Linked DNA regions of Homo sapiens: all the other regions are linked to region 1. Evidence: promoter capture Hi-C in human tissues and cell types (Jung and others, 2019). All regions are on one chromosome and are shown on one strand. Each heading gives the region's core, a stretch centred on a gene start or on the middle of the fragment in contact. The rest is flanking DNA. Distances are from core to core; before and after follow the strand shown.

The links. The method cuts DNA at HindIII sites, captures the fragments that hold promoters and counts their contacts. A contact is called where the count stands out against the background at its distance.
Region 2: a fragment that was not itself captured here is called in contact with the fragment with the promoter of SLC25A15 in region 1 in 2 of the 25 tissues and cell types used here (H1 embryonic stem cells and dorsolateral prefrontal cortex).
Region 3: a contact is called between a fragment that was not itself captured here and the fragment with the promoter of SLC25A15 in region 1, in 2 of the 25 tissues and cell types used here (mesendoderm cells and thymus).

Annotation. Positions count from the first base shown.
Region 1 is chr13:40,787,902-40,791,719 of GRCh38, forward strand. SLC25A15 (solute carrier family 25 member 15) reads left to right here and starts at 1,710. Exons shown (of 7, transcript NM_014252.4): 1 at 1,710-1,762. RefSeq lists silencers at 1,280-1,859, 2,992-3,286. The HindIII fragment of the contact is 20,114 bases long and covers 1-3,818 here.
Region 2 is chr13:39,811,767-39,815,584 of GRCh38, forward strand. No RefSeq gene overlaps it. Among named protein-coding and RNA genes, the nearest start is that of MIR4305, 150 kb to the left of the region's middle. The HindIII fragment of the contact is 3,252 bases long and covers 181-3,432 here.
Region 3 is chr13:40,143,157-40,146,974 of GRCh38, forward strand. All of the region lies in intron 1 of LOC124903162, which reads right to left. Among named protein-coding and RNA genes, the nearest start is that of LINC00332, 37 kb to the right of the region's middle. The HindIII fragment of the contact is 4,577 bases long and covers 1-3,818 here.

The DNA of each region.
Region 1 (3,818 bases), core at 460-2,959:
TAACTGTAGTTTCAGCTGCTGGATCTGCTTTCAGTTAGTTATGTTCCCCATCACTTTGGACAAGTCATCCCAACTCCCTGGCTTGTTTTTGTAACTCGATTACAGTCCAGAAGCCCAAGTTCTAAAGTGCTGATTCTGATGAGTGTCCATGTACCAGGCACTCTGATCCCATCATAGCATCTACTACAGCCTGGGAGGTCTACTCAAGTGTGCATTCATGTTAAGCACTAACACCAATTAAATCACTTAAATAACGTAGGTAATTATCCAATAGCACATCCAGACGTGGTGGCTCACACGTGTAATCCCAGCACTTTGAGAGGCCGAGGCAGGCAGATCACCTGAGGTCAGGAGTTCGAGACCAGCCCGGCCAAGGTGGTGAAACCCTGTCTCTACTAAAAAATACAAAATTAGCTGGGTGTGGTGGCGCATGCCTGTAATCCCAGCTACTTGGGAAGCTAAGGCAGGAGAATCGCTTGAACCCAGGAGGGGGAGGTTGCAGTGAGCTGAGATTGCACCATTGCACTCCAGCTCGGGTGACAGAGTGAGACTCTGTCTCAAAAAAAAAAAGAAAAAAAAAGAAAAAAATAATAATCCAACAGCACATCTAAACAAGGCTTAAAGTTGTAAAATAAAATTACACTGTGTGGAGGGTGTGTGTGTGTGTGTGTGTGTGTGTGTGTGGGTGAGAGAGAGAGAGAGAGAGAGATGAGGTCTCTGTCATCCAGGCTGGAGTGCAACAGTGCCATCATAGCTCACTGCGGCCTCCAATTCCTGGCCTCAAGCGATCCTCCCGCCTTGGCCTCCCAAATAGCTAAGAATAGAGGCATGTGTCACCACACCTTTTTTTTTTTGTCGTTGTTTGTTTGTTTTTATGAAACGGAGTCTCGCTGTGTAGCCCAGGCTGGAGTGTAGTGATGCAATCTTGGCTCACTGCAACCTTCACCTCCCAGATTCAAGCGATTCTCCTGCCTCAGCCTCCCTAGTAGCTGGGGTTACAGACACGCACCACCACGCTGGATAAATTTTTGTAATTTTAGTACACGGGGTTTCACCATGTTGGCCAGGCTGGTCTTGGACTCCTGACCTCAGGTGATCCGCCTACCTCGGCCTCCCACAGTGCTGGGATTACAGGCGTGAGCCACCATGCCCGGCTAATTCCTGTATTTTCATACTTAGTTGTATTTCCTATTAGGGCCTTGGATCCCGAGTATAATTTTGTACTCAAATATAATTTATAAATAAGGCCTTAGCCTCCCAACAAGGTCAAAGTAGCTAAAAAGTAAGTCCTCCCAACCACTGACATTACCAGCCCCCAGCCCCCAGTCCCAGCCCAGCGGGCTAACAAGGGTCCGGCCTCAGAGAGGGTCTCGGGGATCCCAGAGGTGGGAAAGTCTCCGGAGGCGCAGGCCCCGCTCTCCACCTTCACCAGGGTCGGCGGCAGCACCACGCCGGGTCGCGGGCTGGCTGTGCGCGCCGCGGCCCCACGCCCACTTCCGCTTCCCGTGCTGGGGGCGGTGGCAGGGCCGGTGGGCGGTGGCGGCTCCCGGTCTCGGCTCGGGCACGGCCCTGGGCAGGCCGCCCGCCAGCCGCAGGGGCGCTCCTGAGCTTCGCGGGGCCGCAGTCCGGGATGCCTGCGCGAAGGGAGGGGCGAAGGGCCGGCCGTTGCCGACGTGGGTGTTAAGTGGCCGCCCCAGCCGGCGACCCGGAGCCGAGAGCGGGCGGCGGAGCCTGAGCTGGACGCGGCCACGCCGGCGCGGCGGTGAGCGCAGCCCGGTCTGGCGCCTGCAGCTGCGGGGAGCGCGCCAGGCAGAGGGAGCGGGGAGCGGGGCGCGGGGCGGGCCTCGGTGTGCGGGCGGCGTGACCTTCCCGAGCGGCGGGGGAAGCGGCCAGCGTCGCAGCGCACGTGCCGCGGGACTCGGAGAATCTCGGGGTTGTCGGCCTCCTTCCTGCAGTGCCCACCTGGTGGGAACTTTTGTCCTTGTTTGCCCCCAAGTCCTGTCATTTGGCTGCGGGGCTCCGCGCCTCAGGGGCGCCAGTGCTGGGCAGCATGGAGCCGCTTGTGAATGGAGACTTGCTGGCTGCCCAGGAGTGGGCGGCTGGGCAGGGGCGGTGAACGTTTAGGGTCCGGCCAAGAAAGTTGGAAGTCGTCTCCCTGACCTGTTCCTTGCGAGGCCCGGGAGGAGACGCGCCTGGCCGGTCCTTGGCGGCGAAACTGATTTGCATCTCCACGCTTTACCTAAAGCCCGGGCTCTGGGGACTGGATGGCGAGCTGGCCTGCGGCTCCTTTAGCCAGAAGCTGGGATCTTCCCGCAGCAGTTCGTGTTCCCTGGTGGAAAATGCAGCCTCATCTACTGACTCTCCCTTCCAAAAAAAAGTTATTTTCCCCAAGGGTCGAGAAAAGTGGGTGGTCGGCACTGTTGTTCCTCAGTTGCACCCTGGTGTAATTTGAGAGAGGGGTCAAAGGCGCTGAAAAGATTCTTTTTTCTATTCCAAGTGCTACAGCAAGCTCATAAATCAATTTTAATTCATGCTGAACAGTCTTGCCTCCTCCAAGCCCTGTGTCTTCTCCAAGCCAGAGCTACACATAATGTGAATTAGCTGCCCACTCCTTCTGAGTGAATCTGTTAGTACCCATCATCGTTTTCTATCCTAATAATTCTAATGGCTATTTGTAGAATTTATTTGTTTGTTTATTTTTTTGAGACGGAGTTTCGCTCTTGTTGCCCAGGCTGGAGTGCAATGGGGCGATCTCGGCTCACCGCAACCTCCGCCTCCTGGGTTCAAGCTATTCTCCTCCCTCAGCCTCCCGAGTAGCTGGGATTACAAGCATGGCCCACCACGCCAGGCTAATTTTGTATTTTTAATAGAGACGGGGGTTTCTCATGTTGGTCAGGCTGGTCTCGAACTCCCGACCTCAGGTGATCCGCCCGCCTTGGCCTCCCAAAGTGCTGGGATTACAGGCGTGAGCCACTGTGCCTGGCCTATTTGTAGAATTTAATGTGTTTAAGTTTGGCTCACCTAACAGGGTTTAATTCTTAGGGACAGATAGAATGTAATGTGATGTGACTTTCCTTCAAAATTAAGAAGGAAGTGTCTGTGCCAAAAGAAATAAGCGCATTGAGGTTTATCTAGGAGGCCACATTGTACTTGCCTCTGTCTGTCTGCTCAGTTGCCCCCGTTTTTTTCTTTCCCAAAAATATAGGGTTGGGTGTTTTGTGTTGCCTTTGGCCAGGTTGAAATACTCAGATTAACGGTTGGTTTGTAGGCACAGGCCTGAAAAGACAGGACTTTGAACTGAATCCTCTGTCACTGACAGTTGTGTGGCCTTGGAGAAGACCTTGTCTTGCTCCAGGCTTTAGTTTGCCTTCTGGGAAAGGATTAGGACCCTGATAAACTTTTTATTTATTTATTTATTTATTTATTTATTTATTTTATTTTTTATTTTCTATTATTATTATTATTTTTTTTTTTGAGACAGAGTCTCACTTTGTTGCCCAGGCTGGAGTCCAGTGGCACAATCTCGGCTCACTGCAACCTCCACCTCCCGGGTTCAAGTGAATCTTCTGCCTCAGCCTCCTGAGTAGCTGGGACTACAGGTGTGCATCACCACGCTGGGGTCATTTTTGTATTTTAAGTAGAGACAGGGTTACACCATATTCGTCAAGCTGGTCTCAAACTCCTGACCTCGTGATCCTCCCACCTCAGCCGGCCCAAAGTGCTGGGATTACAGGCGTGAGCCACCGCGCCTGGCCAGGACCCTGATAAACTTTTTTAGGAAGATACCAGATGGCCACCACCTTTTCAGCCTAGTGAAT
Region 2 (3,818 bases), core at 557-3,056, 980 kb before region 1:
CAGGTGGAGTGGCATTGGAGGGCTCCTGCAGGGCCTGGCCGAGGCAGTGATGAGTGGTACTGGTGACAGCAGTGGCCCTAGAGGCACAGTGGGAAACTGCACACCAGTGGGTACCAGAGGTGGAGGTGGAGAGCTTCATGCGGTTTTAGGGAACTGACGCCTGGACATAGATGGTCCTAATGGAGGCTCAGATGGGAGAGGAAATATAACTGCGGGGAGTCACACAGGGGAGCCAAAAGGAATGTCAGTGAGAATGAGAGAACCCCAGGGATTCCCATTTATAATTAAAGGAGATGGGGAGGTTCCTACAACCACACAGGGGTTAACATAAAGCAGCAAAATCAAGATGATATTAATATTAATATGACACCACTGTGAATCTCTGAAAAACATGGTTTATAGCTGTAAGAAAGAAATGTTGACCTAATTTATCTCCACCATCATTTAACTGGGAGAAATAAGAAATTATTCCTGTTACTTGTATGAGTCTGTGTTTGTGGCAGAAAGGGTCCAGGTGACCTCCTGGGGATCTGATTCCAATCTGAGTGAGTATTTGAGTTTGAGCCATTCAGACACGTGTGAAACTTATCCTTTTGGATTTCCTGATGCTTTCCCATTGGCAAACACTAGCTCAAGTCACCAAAAATATCATACAACAATTGCACATTTCCCATCCCCTTGCTGTTTGCTTTCTGTGCCTCCTAGGACTTTGCTGAGCAGCCACGCTGCACAACTGCCTGTTCCAGCCCCACATCTGGGCATCTTGTGGAACCTCTGTTTGTCGTAGGGGTCTCTCCTCTGCTGCTTTGTGGGGAGGCTCAGCTTATATCATGTGACTCTTGAACCCTGGGCTTTTCCAACAGATTCTTGTGACAATTTTTAGCTCCAATTGTCACCATTGCTTTAAACCTGCTCATCAAGGCCTGCAGCATCCTGGGTGATGCATCTCCTTTCTTAGGGTTTCTTTGTTGTTGTTGTTTGTGCTAACTTTTCACCCAGGCTCTAATATCTGTGTAGAACCACTTGAAAAAAAGAAAATTAAATTTTGTTTTCTCAAGAGACATGCCTGCCTCTCCTGGGGCTGCCAAAACACGCTGATTGTTCTTGGGTAAAACTCCTCCACTGCACAAAGTAAGTGGGACTCAAGCTGTAAATACACCCCATTCACCACCAGATCCCATTTTAACTTTGCAAAAAGCTTGCTTAATTCAGACAGGTACATTTATTTGTGTGCCCGGTCCCATAGTAGATTCAAAGTATCAGACATGTTCCCCAATGTCAGAGACTTTGCAATCTGGCTCATCTAAGAAAACATGGGGGTTAAAAAGAACTAACAACAGTGTTAGAAAAACCGATGCTCAATACTTTCTATCTCTTACTGACAAGTCTTTAACACCTTAAATGTAGTAGTCACTGCAAAAGTCTCTCCTTTTTTGTTCTTCTGTCTCTTGGCTTTCTTACCCTGAATCTAGATCTAACATTAACATGCCACTGCATAATCTAGAGCTTATGCACTGTATGACCTTTAGCAAGTTACTTAATTTTGTCATGTCAGTTTTTCATATGTAAGATGGAAGGAATGGATGTTTTCTTATAAATTCGAAAATCAATGTGAGGAACTTAGCCTCTTTTAATTTTTTTTTTTTTTTGAGATGGAGTTTTGCTCTTGTTGCCCAGGCTGGAGTGCAATGGAGTGATCTCAGCTCACTGCAACCTCTGCCTCCCAGGTTCAAGTGATTCTCCCACCTCAGCATTCCAAGTAGCTGGGATTACAGGTGCCCGCCACCATGCCCAGCTAATTTTCATGTTTTTAGTAGAGATGGGGTTTCACCATGTTGGTCAGGCTGGTCTCAAACTCCTGACCTCAAGTGATCCACCCTCCTCGGCCTCCCAAAATGCTGGATTATAGGCGTGAGCCACCGTACCCAGTGCCTCATTCTTGATAAATAACATTTATTGACTTGGCAAACAGCCAATAAGTATTAGCTATTGTTAGTGTATTAGAAATATTGTGAATTGCCATCCTCATCATTTTATTTGTCCATAGATGAGATAATGTCAATAGTTCCCATTCCACAGTTCATGGCAGTGTGCATGGTACTTTATACAAGCTGGAGCAGCTGCTCAGATGGTAGAACTCATTGGCTTGGGTGGCTTTCTTTTTTCTTAGCTGATGATTGATTGATTCGGAATCATGAGGGAAGAGGAGGGTAAACGATTCCATGCCACAAAGTCTTGGGGACCTGACCATAGTTTTAGTAATGGAGTCAAGTGGCCACTCTTCATCACAGGTATGTTCTGTCGTCCTTTAAACATGAGGTTGTCACTGCTGGAAGAATTTCCTTTTAGCAACTGTACTATTAAATCTTAAATTATATGTGTGCGGCTCTTTGACGTTTTCATTGTACTTTTGCATATATTTGCTTATCCTGTTTTACAGGTGATGAAATTGTGGCTTAAAGAAGTAACTGCACTCTTCCCCCTTCAAAAAAATGGGGCTGAAGTAGAATGCAGATATTTTAAACTCTATATTAAAAACTATCCTCTATGACATTGTGGCCTTCTCTTTAATATCAGGTCCCATTGGACATTACTCCCTTAACAGCTATTTCTTTTCTTTTCACCTTACATATTTTCTCTTTCTTTTGGGCAGAGTTCCCTCATTTTGTATTGATGTTGATTATGGAAGACTTAGCAGTAATTTAAGAATCAATTACTTATATTATCTTTTTTTGGTTTTGGGATGACAGAAAAAAATGTATTCCTTAAAGAACAAGGCTTTAGTGTGAAAATATAATATACACTGAAAAGGGGCTTGTTCCTTTTCAGATTGACGTGAGCACATATCTGGAGTTGATTGTTCCGTTCTGACACCCCCTCAGACTAGGCATTTGGCACTCATTTCTATAATGCCCACTATTACACATATATTTTAAAGTTATTGTTGATGATAAGAATATAAATATCGACTAATAAAAATTTTCTGGAGAAATACATATGCATGTGTGTAGATGTATATTTATACCTGTGTATACATATATTCATGCATTTATTTTAAAACATACATTTGCATGCAAAAAATACAAATGACTCCAATAGAATGATATGATTCTAAACCGAAGCTTTTTTATTTTTACTGTTTTAGGCAAATGTTTACTTTTTACTGCACTTCTATGGCTGCTTTCTTTTGTGTTTCAGACTGTGACTGCCATGGTTTTCTGCTCAGCATAAAATTTCTATCTGTGTAAAATTATTCTGATTGCTACCTGCAAGGCTCTGTGATTTCAGATGGTGTGAATTCGTGATGCCATTCAGATAATGTTCAAAAATGCAAATATTCACAGTAGGAATGTCCACAAAAGTCATTTTCCCACATTATACTGAAGAAAAAAAAAGAAACAGAAGTATGATAATAGTAAATCGGTATAAGAAGCAAAACACCATGAGGGTGGCAGCTGAAAGTTAAGCTGCGTAAGATAGTGTTCTCTGAGAGTTCCTACAAATTAGGAGTATAACCTTGAATGCTTCAGAGCCTGATTTTCATGTAAAATCAAACTGACAAAGGACTTTCTGCTAGATTTTCAGATTCTACTCAGAACATTTTTAGAACATGCACCCTAATGTTTATGATTAGAGTGTCTACCTCTTGACGCTCTTTGAGCCAGGCTATTTTTAAGCATCTGCACAGATTTTTTGCTTCCTTGAGCTTCAAGACTTCTGATTTCTGCATGTGAAAGTCAAGCTTCCAGCTGTTTAAATCATAGGCAGGGGGCAGAGTTGGTCCAATTACTAGAGGAGACTGAACGATTTGGAGCTGG
Region 3 (3,818 bases), core at 872-3,371, 640 kb before region 1:
AGCATGACTTTTCAGCCCTTCCTAAGAACCCTTCAGCCAGAAACACTTCAAATGAGAGTACAAGAGTCTCGCTGACACCAAGCGCCAGCAAGTCCTTGTCATGTACAGCATCTGGGCAGAAGTAAGAACATCTGTTCCCAGCATGAACCTTATTAGCTTCATCATTTGGCTTTCAACCAAAAAAATGTACAATTATGATACATGGGCTTAATGGGTGGCAAGGTAGCAACTAATGCTCTGCAGCAGATGAGCTCAGGAGCAGGCGTGGCTATGGGGGTAGCGGCCATGCAGCGGGGGCAAGACACACCTAGCAGCAACAGCTCCATTACCTGGAGGCAACCTTGCAGCAACCGCAGGTTCTAGAGACAGAGGACAACTGGGGACTGGAAAGAAGAGAGAGTGAGAAAAAGGAGGGAGAACGGAAGAGGAGGAGAGAGGAGAGAAGGGGAGAAAGTGAATGAGAGGCATGAGAGTGAAGCCATAAAGACCCCACCCAGACATAAAAGTGAGGGTGAGGGAGCGGGGCAGACAAAGTAGCTCTGCCTGGCACATGGTAGAGCAGGATGTCCCACACACTAAAGCAGGGCCGCCTGGGTCTGCACCTCATCTCCACCACTTCCCTGATGTGTGCACTCAGGCAAGCTGCCTCGTCGCTTTGTGCCTTAGTTCTCTCAACCCCTGAGAGGGGAAAATCACAGCACCTACCTCAGAGGGTTGATGTGAGGGGTAAGTGTGTTACTCTGCATAAGGCACTTGAGCAGTACTTGACATGGAGCAAGCTGCCATCATCGCATCATCATCATCATCATCATCACTACTACTACTATCATCATTACTTGTAAGACTGATTTAAATACTCCTTATATACTTGCATATACTCCTTACAGCATGATGAGCTAGGTACCAGTATTATCCCCACATCGCGCAGCAAGCGTGTGGAAGTGAAAAGCTGGGCCTTAGCAATCTGCCTCTGGAGCCCGTGCTCCTTACCATCTCCCAGGCAGGACTCAACAGCCTCCCTAAGAATTGCCCTTGAGCTTGTCACTGCCATAATAAAAACAACAGAAGCAGCACAGACTAAAGCTTATGTCTGGGTTTGTTACATGGAAGGCCAAGAGCAATCTCCTTCCCTGGGCCTCCTTATTACAGGTAGCACTCCCTGCACCTAAGGAAGCAGGATTGAAATTAAGGAGACGTGGGTTTGAATCCCAGCTCCACACTCAAGAGCAGTGGGCATGCCTGCGGAGGTAAATGGCTGCCTCCTGCGCCTGCTGCTCTCTGCTGGAACCAGAATGAGACACCCCTAGGTCTGTGGTGAGGATTCAGCAGGGCTGTGGAAGTAGAGCTCTCCCAGTGTCTGGCAGTCAGCATATCATAGATCTAGCATCAGTACAAGACAGCGTGTTCCCTGTGAAAGCTGAGAAATGCTGGGAAGGGGAGACAGGAAGATAAAAGCAGGAGGACGGAGGGAAGCTTCAGCAGACGGCAGACAAGGAAGCAGCATCAGAGCGGGTGATGAGGTGGGAATGAAGGCTGTGGGAATGGAGGTCGCAGTGGAGTGAGGTGGGCTCTAGAGAAACAGGGAAGAGCTGGCCTCCTGGGAGCGAAGAACCCTGCTCACCTCAGCACCCCAGGTCTCTCCCAATTACATTATGGGTGTTCCTGATAGCAAAATAAAGTTTCAACCAAAGGCTGAATTATGTGCAAAATTCTCTATATAAGAGGTCAGGGGTTTACACCTCTTAAGAGGGCTTCTTACAAAATTGTTAAAATGTTATAGAAGGTACGTAAAGTGGGGGTATGTTACTAACATCCAAAACAAAGCAGATTATGAAGAAAGGTTCATAGTCAATGGATTCTAATAAAACTGAGGAGTTGCTGTTTGTATTTATGTATGGTCCTTCATCCTGGAAGATGCCTTCTTGGTGTTCTAGTCACCTGGGTGCTGGCATATGAATAACTGTTTAATCCTGGGCAAGTTGCCTAACCTCTCTGAGCCTCAAGTTTTTTCCATCTGTGAAAGAAGTATGAGAATAGAGCCTACCTCATAGGTGGATGTAAACATTAAACAAGAGAACGCGTGGGAAGAGGTCACATGATGCCTAGCATGTGGTGTGAACGCACCAACGTGAGCTCATAGGATTACTGCTGTTTGCATTATCATGTGGCAATGGCACAAGACAAAGTGCTGCGATGTGGCTTCAGAGTCGACACATCTAATTTCTGGAAATTAGTCAAGGAAAGCAGTCAATAACATTAACACCTCCCTCTGCCTCTCGCACCATCTGCACCAATCACAAGTCCTCTCAGCTCCACTTTATGAGAACTTCTATCTTCCACTCTGTTTCCTTCCTTCTCACTCACTGACCTCATTTGGTTTTCATCTGCCATGGGGTCTACCTCAACCAACTGCAAGGGCCTCTGCAGACATTCTTCCCTCTACTCCATTTAGTCCATTCTTCATACAGAAGCTGTGTAGCCCCTTTTTGAAGTCTCAGTTTATATTAAAATTTGATTCATCCACTTTTAAAAATTCTACTGCATAGTATAACCCCATTTGTTTTACTTTTTAAAAACCATATTTAAGTTACTTACCATTTGGTTAAATTGACACTCCCAAAACTTCCCAAACCTTCTCCAGCCAGCTCTGTAGCTAGTGCGTGTTAGGGGCTCAGCAAATGTTTGTGGACTTACACCACAGATGTAAAGAAATTTCCTAAGTAGAAATTCACATGCAAACATGATAATGACTGGGAAGTGAGGAGGGTGAGGTGATGCCTGTATTATTTCTTAATTTCCCAAGTATAGGGACAAGTATTTTCTAAGAGTCTTATAATTTAATACATATTTTTAAGATAAAATGTATGTGGGAGGATTACCTAGACACACACATAGCAGAGCATCCTTTGCTTGCTACCTGTGTCTGCTGTTTGCAAACACCATTGCTATTTCTGAGCAATGTTTCTTCACCAGGAAAGAACAGGTCCCCCAGACTCTGACAGATCACATGCTGCCCAAGGATACAACATTAAAGAACAATGACCACTGAAGTCAGGAGAAAATGCAATCATGCCCCTCCCAGGATCAAGCAACTGTCACACCCTACTCCTGCCATCTTGAGTCAGAAGGAATAAATGCAGGACGAGCTTGGGACTCTGATGTTGCCTACTTCCCTGCATCTCGGGATTTTTGCTCTTCTTGGGATTCTCGTCGGTAACACAAAATGAATAGTCCACCACTACCTGCTCAAAGCAGTGGACTGGCTCAGTCATGATTTGCTAGCAGTTTCAAAACACAAAACGATATTGCTGAGACTGACTGCCAAGAAGCAGGGTTTATCCTGTATCTCTTCTCCCCCGTGGGTGAGAAAAGAGAGCATCAGGTTTGTGGGATCCAAAGTTGCAAGCAGTGATTTATTTACTCTTAGCAACCATGGCTGAAGCTTAGTGACATCTGTAAGCTGAACATTCTCATCAAGTGTGTGTTTTATTGAACCGTTTGCCCTCAGGGTGCTGCAGGCTTAGTTGACATCCTGCTTGAAGCTGACAACTCACACTCCACCATCCACTGACAAGAGGCTGGGCTCCAGCTATGCACAGGCACACACGGCACTCCTATTCTGCATCTAGTTTTTGTGGCTCCTCATCACCAGGTAACAGCGTCTCACAAACCTCTTAGTCATCACTCCCCTTCTCAGAGTGCCAGTGCCTCAAGGAAGATGCTTTTCCTTTTCTTGAAAGCACCGTTTTCCGCTTTTTTCAGTTTCATTTCCTGTTTGCAGTTTAAGAGCCAACAAGGCAGATGGATGAAGTATCAGC